2 separate regions of the Homo sapiens genome follow, and region 2 is linked to region 1. The links are contacts of gene promoters, found by promoter capture Hi-C in blood cells and fetal thymus (Javierre and others, 2016). All regions are on one chromosome and are shown on one strand. The core of a region is centred on a gene start or on the middle of the fragment in contact, and the rest is flanking DNA. Distances in the headings are between cores, read along the strand shown.

The links. Contacts are between HindIII fragments. The CHiCAGO score rates a contact against its expected background, and 5 or more counts as called.
Region 2: a contact is called between the fragment with the promoter of MICU2 here and the fragment with the promoter of SUGT1 in region 1, in 4 of 17 cell types (total CD8 T cells, total CD4 T cells, non-activated CD4 T cells and 1 more). The highest score is 17.8, in total CD8 T cells.

The regions. Positions count from the first base shown.
Region 1 is chr13:52,651,448-52,657,971 of GRCh38, reverse strand. SUGT1 (SGT1 assembly cochaperone of MIS12 kinetochore complex) reads right to left here and starts at 5,136. Exons shown (of 13, transcript NM_006704.5): 1 at 5,014-5,136; 2 at 4,869-4,926; 3 at 350-440. The coding sequence starts at 5,051. It overlaps SUGT1-DT (SUGT1 divergent transcript), which reads left to right and starts at 5,665. Exons shown (of 1, transcript NR_170300.1): 1 at 5,665-6,524. RefSeq lists enhancers at 4,656-4,775, 4,885-5,386, 5,496-5,835 and a silencer at 5,136-5,405. The HindIII fragment of the contact is 4,517 bases long and covers 3,088-6,524 here.
Region 2 is chr13:21,602,069-21,608,952 of GRCh38, reverse strand. It overlaps MICU2 (mitochondrial calcium uptake 2), which reads left to right and starts at 4,783. Exons shown (of 12, transcript NM_152726.3): 1 at 4,783-5,014. The coding sequence starts at 4,805. RefSeq lists enhancers at 4,600-4,669, 4,451-5,069, 5,070-5,689 and a silencer at 4,840-5,049. The HindIII fragment of the contact is 1,411 bases long and covers 4,043-5,453 here.

The sequences.
Region 1 (6,524 bases), core at 3,887-6,386:
GGGATTACAGGCGTGAGCCACCATGCCTGGCCACATTCTTTTTTATAAAAAAAATTTAAACGAGCATTTCATTTTAATAGTCTGTCAAATAGTAAATGTGATGCTATTTTTTATCAGCATACCCAATAACTATGAATGAAATCTGTATACATTCTCCACCCAATGAAGGAAAAAGCGACATCCATAAAATTTAAATGGGTGTTGCTCAACATGTCTGTCACATTTGAGCTACTTTACCTTGTATAAAAGACCAATTTAAAAATTCTCAAAGACAACTTTTAATTTGTCATGGGTAAAATGTATAAGTAACTTATTAAAAGGGGGCAATATACTTTATAAGAAACGTTACCACAGTAATTCCCAAGAAGAATGTGACAATAAGCTCTTTGACAATAATACTGTGCATCATCTGGTTTCTGTTCCAAAGCCTTAGTCAGCTCCTACAAAAACAAACATGTGGAGCGTCAGTAAAAGTTTGTAAGAAGCCATCAAATTCTAATTAAAACATAATTTTTAATCAAGTAACTTATTGTCAGAAGCTATTTGGAGGAAAGATAACACGGATATAATATTGGAGTTTTTCCTTATAAAAGGATCAATATCTCCCCCACTTCTCTTGCCCCTCCTCCCAAAAGTAGGCAATCTAATGTAGCATCTCTGTACCGTAAAGCTTTTAGTTCCTGGTCTATAGAACTTAATAAATGATCATTATTATCAGCTCATATATTCTGAAGAGTTTAATTGTTACACATTGACCATTACAGATTTCCTCCTACTAATTTGAAGAAGATTCAAACACCATATAGAATTTGAGATTCCTAGAAAATGTTAAGCTGTGCAATAAAAAAAGACCAGAAGTTAAATCTAGCACTCAGGGAGGTTAAGACAATCAATACATACACAATCAAGTGTACCTGGCCCTCTCCTAGCCTCTAACAATAGCACACAACTCTAATAAAACCCAACTAAATATTCTGTTCAAAGCCCAGATACAATCTAATAGATGGCTATGTCAACTACCAAGAGTTAACATTAGAGATTGAAACTTTTTTAACTTGTGCAGTCACAACATATAGGTGTGGTAGCTGGAAAAATAATGATGTAAGAGATTACACAATTAGGGAGATCAAAGACAAGTGCAGGAACACTTTTATTTTCTGCCAACTGCCTACAAACTCTAGGGATTTGGTAGTTTTCTTAAATGGTAAAATTATTTCAAGAGCCACATGTATCATTGACTTTGCTTTAACCTAGTAGTGTGACTCTCAGAAAGCAACATATACAGATGCTCCTCAACTCACATGGGGTTACAGTCAATCAACAGAAAGTAAGGCTCAAATCAAGAGAGCAAAGAAGCTGTAAGATGCTACTTTAAGGGCCTCACTTTGTAGCTTGCAGGCAGTTATAAGGAATTTGGACCTTACGTTTGATGGAAAGCCATGGAAAGTTCACTGTTAGTAAGGGGAACATGGTCCAATTTACTTTTTTTTAATGTCATTCTGGCTGCAGTATGGTAAATACATTATCAAATCAAGACTGGAAACGGAGACTTCTTAGGAAACTATTACATTAAGTCTAGGCTAGAAAAGGATGTTAGCCACAGAGGTGATGAAAAGAAATACGATTAAGTTGGAACATATTAGAAGCAGAGAGACTTGCTAATGGGTGAACATGTGGGATAAGAGAAACTGAAGATGACTCCAGGGTGTTGGGCTTGCCTAGATCTGTATGTGACATCCAGTAATCACTCAATGAAAAGTATTGATTTTTCTTCTTGCAGACTTTTTTCAGCCTTTTCCCCAGTCTCTACTTTGACTGCATCTCCTTTGCCATAGAATACAAAAATATTTGCCTCTCTAGTCTTAATCTTCTCAAAGTCACTAATAACCCCTTATAAAATCCAACTGATTCCTATCTGACTTGATCTCTCTGTGGCCCTTGACAATAATAACCAGGCCTTTCAGCTTACCATTCTGCTGCCTCTTAAAAACTAATGTTCTCCTTGGGCTCAGTACTTAAGACTTCTTCCCCTCTACAAACATTCTTTGATTCCTTAACTACTGGGGGGCTTCACATATGTGTTGATGCATGCTGATGACTCAAGTCTATCTTGAGCCTAGACAGTGGTCCTGGGCAACATCAGCATATAGTTTTCTCTAAACTTTACCTGAAATGTCCCAGAGGCAACTCATATACAAATATTCACAATCTAAAACTACTTTCTATCCTCAAACCTATTCCCCCATGCTGAAGGCAATCTTCTAAGTGCTATCATCCTAAGTGCTATCTAAATGAATGGCACCAGTTCCTACAACATTCCCCCAGCCAGAAACTCAGGAGACATCCCTTATATTCTAATCGTCACCAAGTCCGGTGCATTTTACATAAAACAACTCACCTCCATGCCCTCAATCACTGCCCTACATGCAAATATTCATCTTTGACCCGGTCTGCACTACCATCTTCCTGCTATCCACTATCCCTTGTGCCTCCTCCAATTCGCTATCTACTCTGCTTTTAAAGTAGGTTTTGTAATTCAGAAAATTTCATTTTCCTTCCTCCAAATTCTTGACGGATCTCCATAATCATATGATAAAACTGAAAACCCTGTGCTGGGATTTAATGCCTTTGATGGCCTGGCCTCACTGTCGCCTGGGCTGGAGTGCAATGGCGCGATCTCAGCTCACTGTAACCTCCACCTCCAGGGTTCAAGTGATTCTCCTGCCTCAGCCTCGCAGGTAGCTGATTACGGCTGCCCACCACCATGCCCGGCTAATTTTTTGTATTTTTAATAGAGACGGGGTTTCACCATGTTGGCCAGGCTGGTCTCGAATTCCTGACCTCGTGATCCGCCTGCCTCGGCCTCCCAGAGTGCTGGGACTATAGGCGTGAGCCACCGCGCCCGGCTGCACTTCTAATGAATTGCCAGGTGATGCTGATAATGCTGGTCCAAGAGCCATACATTAAAAACCAAGGTACTAATACTAGCCACATGACTATCCTAGGCAATTCTTCTCCTAGGTACATACAACCAAAAGAAATGCATGTGTTCACCAAAATACATGTACAAGAGTATTCACAGAAGCTTTTTGTTAGCTAATAACTAGAAATAACCCAGATGTCCACTGTTAGAATAAATTGCGCCGTACTTACGGCTATACAACATATATTTATACAATGGAATATTACACAGCAATGCGAAAGAACTACTACTTCACACAATATGAATGTATACTTATGTAATCATTAAAGCAAAAAGAGTGTCTACATTCAATAAAGCACCTACTGTATGATTCTGTTTATGAGTCAAGAACAAACAAAACTAACTGATGGTGATGGAGGTCAAAGCAGGAGTCAGCAGGACAGTAAGAAGAATTACTGGCTGAGAAGGCGCATTAAGGAGCATTATGAATGGAGATACTCTGTATCTTAATCTGGTGGTGTAAACATGTGAAAACTCATCAAACTATAGACTTAAAATCTGTGTTATTTACATAAATCATATATGCCTCCATAAAAATTTTTAAAGTAAAAGAAGATGGAAAGTGACAATAAAATTCATTATGTTAATACTGTTTAAAAGCAACTTTTATATAAACTGGATTCCCAAAGGAAGCACTAGGTCTAACACGACAATAACAAATGTAAATTAAAAGTCATAGCTGTCTAGCTAATACAAGAAATTATGGAGAAAAATTCTCAGTGCTTCCTGTAACATTATCCCCAAACTCATCCCAGAAGCCTTACTCCCAGTATCTAAAGGTCTATATATTTAGGTGTAAAAAACACACCTGGACCCTAAAAGGCCTTATAGGACCTGGCTCCTAGTTTCCTGTCCAACCTCTCTTAATCAAATGGGCCCTCTAATAAAAAGGGCCTTTTTGTTGCTTCACATACAGGCCAACTTCATTCCTACCTCAAGATCTGCACTGGCTCTTGGTCCTGCCTGGAATATTCTTTCCCCAGAGCTTCCAAGTTAATTCCCTTGTTCCTTCAAATCTCCACTCAAAGATCTCCTCAACGGAGGCTCTAGTACCATGTGGCACATTTCTTATAAAAGTCATAGCTAGAAAAGACGCTGTCTTGCCTCAAATTGTTAAACGTAACAGCAAAACAGGTTTCCTCTTTTCTGTGATTTAACGCAAAAACAAACAAAAACTCCTGGCTAAATTCTGTGACCCGCAGCATCATTTATCTTTAGGTTCTCCTTTAATTCTTATTATTTAACTCTTGATCTTTTACATTCCTTTACAGCTTTATGGTTTGCCTTCATTGCACACCTACAAAAAGTGATTTCTAGGTTAGCTGAGTATATAACCAAGACTTTAACCCACAGCAATCAGCGCCTTTGCACACAGCCACTCCAAAAAAAAATTTTGATGAATATACAAATGAGTGAATAATGAATTGTGATAAGACATCTGGAAAGTTTCAGGGACGTGAGGGAAAAGGGTTTTGCTCCAGTAGACTGACTTCATACCGACACTTTTACGTAAGAATGGCAAGAATTATTGTCAAACGAAAAAATTAACTTCATCGAGCCCAGAGTCCACTTCTCTAATCATAAATGTCATTAAAAAAAAAATCCTTTCAGCCAAACTACAAATGCCAACCATGCTCCCAAGAAATAGAGGAGGTTTTTCTCAGGAGCTGTAGGGAGTGGAAAGGGCAAGACAGGAGTCTGGGGTAACGCGGCTACCGTGTAACAGAGAAAAGAGACGGAGAATCTCAATACCGGAGCTGAGACGCAGCATCAACAAGAGCCTGGGTCCCTGTCCGGCGGTGCGGGGAGAAGGCGGGTCAGCGGGGACCCGAAGTGGCCCAGCTCCCCTAAGAAGAGTGGAGGAAGCAGAAATGGGCTCTCTCACCTCTAACGCCGCCTGGGGGTCCTCGTCGATTAGGGCATCCGAGAAGCTCTGGAAAAACCTGTCAGGAAAACAACGACTTCAGCAGGGCTCACTAGCCAAGGAAAGGGGGATAAAATAAATACCAAAGGGAAAGAAAAACATGCACCTCTGGGATGTTGCAGTTCCTGCTGCAGCCGCCGCCATCCCTCGTAGTCGCTGTTGCTGCCGCCGGAGCTGCTACTATCACGGTTACCACCTCCACCACCGCCCAAGGGGGAAACTTCTGGAGAAACACCAACCGAGCTTCCGTCCTAAATAGCCAGCGAGCAGCCACGCAGCGTGCTGCTAGGGGGACGGGAGGCGACACGCCGGCGCGGGGCCGGCTGGGACAGTGGAGGACCGATTCCTCCCAGCCGCACCCCGGCCCAGGACCCGCGCTCCCAGTCCCCGCCCCTCGCAGCCATGGTTACGGAGGCCTGGGGCGTACACGTTCTTCCTCCCTTCCACCGCGCCCACGCCAGCGGGCACTCCCACGGAGCTTTCAGTAGTACTTTAGAAGCACTTTTGTAACGTACTGTCATCCCTAAGGAACGTGTGGCGGTTAGGGGCGTTTGTATGTCTGTTAATAACGGAAGCTACTTCGAGCTCCCATTTTCCCTAGTTTTTATCATGGCTGCCACAGCTAGCCAAGCCCTTTCGCCTCCATTACGTCTTTAGCGGCTGCGTGGTCTCTTCCGGGAGCAGAGGCCCGGATGACGCGTGGATCCCCGCGATCTTTGGGCTGGGGATTCTAAACGACTGGGACTTGCCGGAAGTCATTCTGCACTAATAGCGGCAAAAAGCCTTCTGGTTCCTGGGGCGACGCGCCCGGCGGCCGTACTATTCACTTCCCCAGAACGCCACAGCCCAGGCTTTCTTCTTAGTGGGCTTCCCAGACCAAGAAGGGAAACCTTTCATCCGAAGGTACTGAGGGGAGGAAGGTGGCCTGAAGTTATCTCAGTGCCGCTTTGTTTCCCACCCCAGTCGGTCAGCCCTTCCTCAGCGCCCTTTAACCCTTGCAGATCGGATGGAGAAAGCTGCCAGCACGTTCTAGGGATGGGGGCAGATTGAGGAGCGGGAGGGAGTAGTCTTTGTCTAACTTTATACCAGTACCAAACTATGTTAATTTAATGTAGTTTTATAATAAATCTTTAAGTCCTGTAACTTATTCTCCCAAGATTGTTTTGGCTTATTCTACGGCCTTTGTATTTCTAGGTGAATTTTGGAATTAGCTTGTTAAAAAGGGGGGGGATTTTTTATTGGGCTCGCATTGAATCTATAGATCTGTTTGGGAAAACTAGTATCTTAACAACAAGTCCTTCAATCCATGAATATCATTCTTCCCCCACCATTTATTTAAGCGGTCTTTAATTTCTCCTGGCAATATTTTGTAGATTGCACATATATCTATATTTTAATGCAGCTGTGCTTGGATAGATTGCAGTATAGAGATCATATATATCTTTCATTAGATTTATTCTTGAGTATTTAGTGTTTTGTATACAATGTTAAATGGCATTTTGACTTTTTTATATTCTACTCGTAAGAATAAACAATATTGATTTTAACATACTGACCTTATATGCAAGCATCTTGCTAAGTTCCCTTGTTATTTGTAATACTCTGTAGATTCTTTCG
Region 2 (6,884 bases), core at 3,534-6,033, about 31 Mb after region 1:
TTGCAGTGAGCTGAGATCGCGCCACTACACTCCAGCCTGGATGACACAGTGAGACTCTGTCTCAAACACACACACGCACACATACACACAAAATAAAAAATAAAAATAAAAATACATAATAAAATATGTAGAATAAAATTATATGAGCCTGGGGGCTATGCCAACATAATCTAACTGAGGGAAAAGGAGAAGGTGGAGATGAAATAAGACTGGCCATGAGTTTGTAATTGTGGAAGTCCAGCTCTACTCATCATTCTAGTCTAATTTTATATATATTTGAATTTTTCATAAGAAAAAGCTAAAAAAAGACAAGTATAATGGTTTCATTACCTCAACTAATAGTACAGTCACTCCCTCCATTCAGATTAATATATTTTTGTGAGGTACCTTTTTGAGCTATGACAGTCATCAAAAACTAATGTATAAATTAACTCAACATAATACCAGACCTTCTATCTCATAAAACCTAAATCAGCATTTTCCAAGTTAATGAAGCCAATTTAATCACATAGATCTCACTAAAATACTAACAGTTTTAGAATAAAACATTCATTGCATCTTTAATAATAAAAATACAATTTTATTTTGTAAATACTAATTCATCTTTACATCACCATTTACATTCTTACTATGTGGCTTTTAACATTTAGTTGTAAATGTGTAGATTTAAGAAATAAGCATACATAAATGGCAGGTTACATACTTTTAAAAGTTTTCAGCATAGAGGGCATAAGCCAATGTGTGAGACCACAGCCCGTGCCCAGGAAGCTCTATCCTATTTGTGCTTGTTGTCTCCAACGTGTGGTCCCATGCCTGGCACATATTTCACATTCGATACAGTTTGTCAACTGAGCAGAAAAAAAAGACACTTCGGAGTGGCATACAAAAAGAATTTTAGAAGTGTAAAAATAAACCAAAACCCATCTCCTCATTTTCCAACTGGGAGACAGAGGCTTAGGAAGGGTAAATCACAGAGCTAATGGATGTATGGTGAAAGAAATGTTTTAGGAAGATTGATCTAACATAGATCTGTGGGATGCTTCAGAGAAGAGAAAGACGAAGCAAAGGCACATGTTAAGAGATGGTCACAATAATCACAGGGCAAGGTAATGGGAGCTGCACTGCGAGGAAGGGAAGGTAATAAGATGCAGACGAGGATCTGAAAGACATACAAAACGCTCCTCTGGGCACTGCTTTCTCACTGTCAGTAAGATTTCACTTTAACCTATTTCTACACATGCTGGTATCAATCACGATACCCAGATATTTTTACTCATGGCCCCAAACTGCACAAAAAGACATAATTAGCAGTTCTTTTGACTCATTTAGGGCCTCTGAGAGTGATTCATACCCTCTGCTACACAATTATCCACCATAAATATAGTTCAACCTCTGACTATTCCAAGCAATGGTTCTTTATAATATCCATGCATATGCTTTTTACTTCATTCCTATAGGAGTCCAACCTCTTTAACTAATCTTTTGAGATCTCCCATATTTTTTCTCCTCCACCTAAGATAATCTGTCTCAGTGCACATTATTCTGGAATAGAGCAGTAAACAATCTTTCAGAATCCAATAGCAATTTTTGTTTTTCTCCCCACACATGCTAAGATCAAAGATGTGTTTGAGTTAATAATTTCTTCTAAAATGGAAATACAAAGGAGTAGATATCTTCAGTAAAAAAACTAGTTGACCTCTTTTGTTCAAGACCAGTAACCCAGAGGGAATCGAAGTTTTGATTGTCAGTAAAAAGGACAATAATTTGAAGAAGCGTGTGGATAGCGGCTAAGAAAGGCCAGGATAAAGTCCGGGCAAGCAGAAGAAATACACTGGTGGAGCATCTGAGATTCAGAAGAGGAGCTCAGCCTCAAGGCGGGTGGGGACGCTGAAAGGGAAGCATGAATACGCCAGTGACAAATGTGCAGAGGGTCAAGGGGGCTGACAACTGTTCCACAGACTGGAGATCATTGTGTGGCCCCTGCCTGGCCCTCAGGACACTCCAAGCCAGTCCCCAGCTAGCCCTTCTGCACCAAGCCTGTCAGCACACACTGTATGCACCCTCCCCCAGGCTCTCACCCTGCCTCAGACCCCAGCAAGTTCCAGATCAAGTCTTCTGTCTTCCCTAGATGCTTTTCTGCCTGTGCCAGCCCACCTCACCCTTGCTTCTCTGTACAGTATAAAAGTCAGAGACAATTGTTTTGAAATTCAAGCCTAGCCTCTCCAGTGAAAATAAAGCTCCTTAAGAGCAGTTTTTCTGACATATCACTTTCGTTCTTCTTCAGAAAAAAAGAGCAGGAGTAAGTGAATTAAGAATACTTTGAAACAATAAGTATTTCCATCCTGTTTTCGTCCAGTTATTTAAAACAGCATACAATGTACAGCTTTAGAAGCAGCTTCTTATTTGGGGGTTGGTTTATAAACTGCATGGTTGAAAATACATCCCAGCCCAGGACTTTACAGCTGATGATGAAGAAATGAACAAAGCTGGAGCCCAAAAAGACCAATATAGTCAATGTGCTTAGACAAATGTCAGCAGCTGCCAAGGAAGATTTCATACTTAGAATGGTTATTCGACTAGAGATTGGTTCTATTATAAGAATTTGTTTCCTCTGCATAAGAAAAGTTTGAATACATTAAATTATAAGTGAGAGTTCTAGATGCCTGGGCACATAATGAAAATTTAAAAAATAACTAATTACACTGTTTTCCAAGTGGGTTCAAAGATTTTTGGCAAAATAAAAAGAAGCTTTTGTTTTGAAAATAAAGTACCCCAAAGGAATAATATACTTCTGTATTTTGGATGGCCAAAGCATAGAAATATGAACCCCTGAGTTTCATTTGTGCCATTTATTTATTCACTTATTTACTCACTCATTGAATGTCTATTACGTGCTGGGCATTGTGCTAGGTGCTAGAGAAACAGGGAAAAGGAAGACATCTCACCCACAAGGATGTCAAATTGTGGGAGAAAGACAATGTTCTTAAATATGCTACATGTTTTAATGGGAATCTAAACTTATCTTGGGCTTAAGGCAATACTGAGTAATAGATGCCAGGTTTCATTAAATACCTAGAGGAACTGTGTGAGGCAGTTAGAAGTATACACGTAAAGACTGTGGTTTCTGGAAATCAAGAATAAACTACAAGGTAAGACATCCAGGGTGTCCAAAATATCCTGGAAGTCCTATTATCACCAGGAAACAAGCTAGATGTCAATAGTCCAGAAAAGCAGGACATGTGCCAAAGCTACCAGAGTTAGCAGAGGTGAAAAACAGTCCAGAGGTTGACAAAGTCAGGCTAGATACAAAAAAGCAGGAAAATCTCAGGTTAAGATGGGCTAGTGATCTGGAATCATGGACATTCAGTCAAGCTCATTTGTGTTCACAGGGCAGAAGTAAACCAAACCTTGACCACAGTAAACGCACATCTGTCATGAGCCTACCATGTGCCAGGCATTTGGCTAGTCACTTTATATAAAATATCTCATTTAGCTTCCCCACCCCAAACTGTAAGAGGGTTGTTCACAGATGAAAAAATTGAGACTCAAAGAGATTAAATACCTTACCCCAAATAGCAGTGATCATCTACCAAATCGTGAGTTATTTACAAATGAGAAAATGGAGACTCAGAGAGATTAAATAATTTGCCCCAAACCACAGTGATCATCCTGGTAGAGCTAAGATTCAAACCTTGAGGTCTGGCTCACAAGTCGGTGAAGTGAGGCTCATCTCTCTACTTCCTACCTGGGAAGGCACACTGAAAAGTAAGTCCAGAAGCTGACGGAAAAGTGAGGAACCTCTGACTGCAGATTAATTTAGACAAGCGGGCTAAGAGAAAGGGAGCAAGGATTAAGGGCAGATAATAACAAAGGGATCCACGGAACTTCCACTGAATGATCAAATTAGATTTCGTGTGACAGGTTTTTGTTTTTGTTTCTTGAAGTTTTGTTTTGTGCAAAACTTCAAGACAGCAGTGATTATGTGATTAGGAGTCTTGGCCCCTTTGATGTTGGCTCCGTTACTGCATGCCCAACTAAAGCTTCTAATAGCTGGGGACATTTCAGAGGCTGAACAAAGAGTTTATTAAAAAGAGTTACTCAGGAAAAGTGAAGACCAAAGAATGGAGGATTGGAGGCTGTTAAATAAAACCAAGTAGTCTGCCTCAGCTACATCACTTATCACCAATGCAACAGCCAGGACTGGAGGTATCGTTCTAAATCTGCACTGGGGAAAACCTCTGGGTCCCTGATGATAGAGACATGGGGCTGGTGTGCTGCTGTCTCTGACTTTTAGTTCTAGGTAGGATAAGAGCTACTATCAAACCTTTTGTTGAAACTGAATTTAAATTCATTATAAGCAAATAGTGAGGGACTGAAATAAACAGAATGCCTTGTCTGAGAGTTGTTTTAGCAGAAATGAAAGAACAGTCAAGACTATAAGCATAGGAAGACATGAACAACACAGATGCAGAAGAGACTATTTCAAAAAACGTTTCACAGTTTTACAAGGTGAAAAAATGAAAAGGAGAAACCTGCCCACACAACCGAGGGCACTATCTTGTTTTGGACTAGGAAGTCATATTATACTGTCTTGATACTCTTCCTGTCATCCCATCCCCACAGCCTTAGAAGGCAGCCCCGGAACCGAAGGCCACCTCTTGCGGCTGCGAGCGTCGCCTCAGCAACCGCACCCACGGCGCAGGCCCGGTAGGCGGGGCGGAAGCCTGTCGGATGTCGCGAGAGTTCCCAAGCGGTAGGCGGCGGCGCCGGGAGAGAAGCGCCGCCTAGCTGCGCTTCCGCAAAGATGGCGGCGGCTGCGGGTAGCTGCGCGCGGGTGGCGGCCTGGGGCGGAAAACTGCGACGGGGGCTCGCTGTCAGCCGACAGGCTGTGCGGAGTCCCGGCCCCTTGGCAGCGGCAGTGGCCGGCGCGGCCCTGGCAGGAGCAGGAGCGGCCTGGCACCACAGCCGCGTCAGTGTTGCGGCGCGGGATGGCAGTTTTACAGTCTCCGCACAGGTACAGGACTAACTCCTTCTGCTAGCCCCAGTCAAGCTCCTCCCTCCCCTGACGCCCTTAGGCGGGGAGTGGTTTGGCTCTGGGCGGCTCTCCCGGAGCCGTGGGTGGAGGTGCCGCTGCGGATCGGAGCGCCCTGCGACTGGTGGGACTCGCTCCTTCCTGGACCGGCCCCCGGCCTGAGTCCCCGAGGGCCTTCGAGGCTGGTGACCGGAGATTCTGCCTCCCTTGGGAGAACCCCGCGGACGCTGAACACCACGGCCCACAAAACTGGCCGCACTAATTTAGTGGTGATGAGTGTGGGCGTGTCTTAATTCGAGGCTCCTAATTCAGAATCTCACTGCGCCTCGCCTCTTGCTACCTCTCTGGTCAGTGAAGTGGCATTCACATCCGCAGGTGGTTTGCGTCCAGTTACCCCTGTGGGATATACCTTTGTTAAGCTTTGCAACTAAGTTTTACGATCTTTTCTTTGTATAGCATGATGAAGTTCTGTCGATTGCTTTTTTAAGTCACGAATGTGTCAGCCACAAAAATTAACCAGTTGATTTCCAGATTTTATTATCAACTTTAAGGAACATTATTGCATGATTATAAACCTTAATATCTTAGTGGACCATAAGTTCTAAGCAAAAATTGCTCCTAAAACCTCCATCTATTAAAGACAAGAGTCCGCCGGGCGCGGTGGCACACGCCTTTAATCCCAGGGCTTTGGGAGGCCGAGGCGGGTGGATCTCCTGAGGTCAGGAGTTCGAGACCAGCCTGGCCAACATGGTGAAGCCGCTCCCCACCCCAGCCCCGCCCCCCCGGTCTCTACTAAAAAATATAAACAATTAGCTGGGTGTGGTGGCGGGAGGCTGAAGTAGGAGAACCGCTTGAATCCGGGAGGCGGAGGTTGCAGTGAGCCAAGATCGAGCCATTGCACTCCAGCCTGAGCTACAAGAGCGAAACTCCGTCTCAAAAAAAAAAAAAAAAGATTCAAGTTCCCTATTTCAGGATAAATGATGTTGTAACGCATTTGAAAATTTGAATGAGTAGTGCTTTAAAATTTTTGTAGACTTAGTAAGTTTTTACATATGAGCTTTTTTGAAAATTGAAAGTAGTAGTTTATTATTTTCTTTTTTAGATTTACATTATGCCTTTCTAGCGAAAAACTCAAGGAACATTCAGATACAACAAAAAAGAGAGGAAAGAAGGCCTTGTGAGTTAAAATTAAGTATTGGCAACTGATATTCCTTATTTGTATTAACATACATTATAATTATATTGTAAACATATATAATGGAAAGATCTATTATCTAGTGTTTTTATAGCATTTTTGTGAATCTTGTGCCAAGGAGTTCAGTGTATTCATCATTAGTTTCTCTCCCCTAGATTCATCCTGGTTTTTTTGTTTGTTTTTTGTTTTTGTTTTTGTTTTTTTTGAGAGGAGTCTCGCTCTGTCGCCCAGGCCGGACTGCAGTGGCGCTATCTCGGCTTACTGCAAGCTCCGCCTCCCGGGTTCACGCCATTCTCCTGCCTCAGCCTCCCGAGTAGCTGGGACTACAGGCGCCCGCCATCGCGCCCGGCTAATTTTTTGTGTTTTTAGTAGAGACGGGGTTTCACCGTATTAGCCAGGATGGTCTCGATCTCCTGACCTCGTGATCCGCCCGCCTTGGCCTCCCTAAGTGCTGGAATTACAGGCGTGAGCCACTGCGCCCGGCCGATTCATCCTGTTTTTAAGACCCTTAGGTTAATCTTCTCCGGAGTATCACTTTAACCACACAGTGTACCCTTCTTCAGAAACCCTTCTTCAGTGTCTCATTTTGCCAAGAGTAAAATGCACTTTTTTTTTGTTGTTGAGATGGAGTCTCTGTCACCCAGGCTGGAGTGCAGT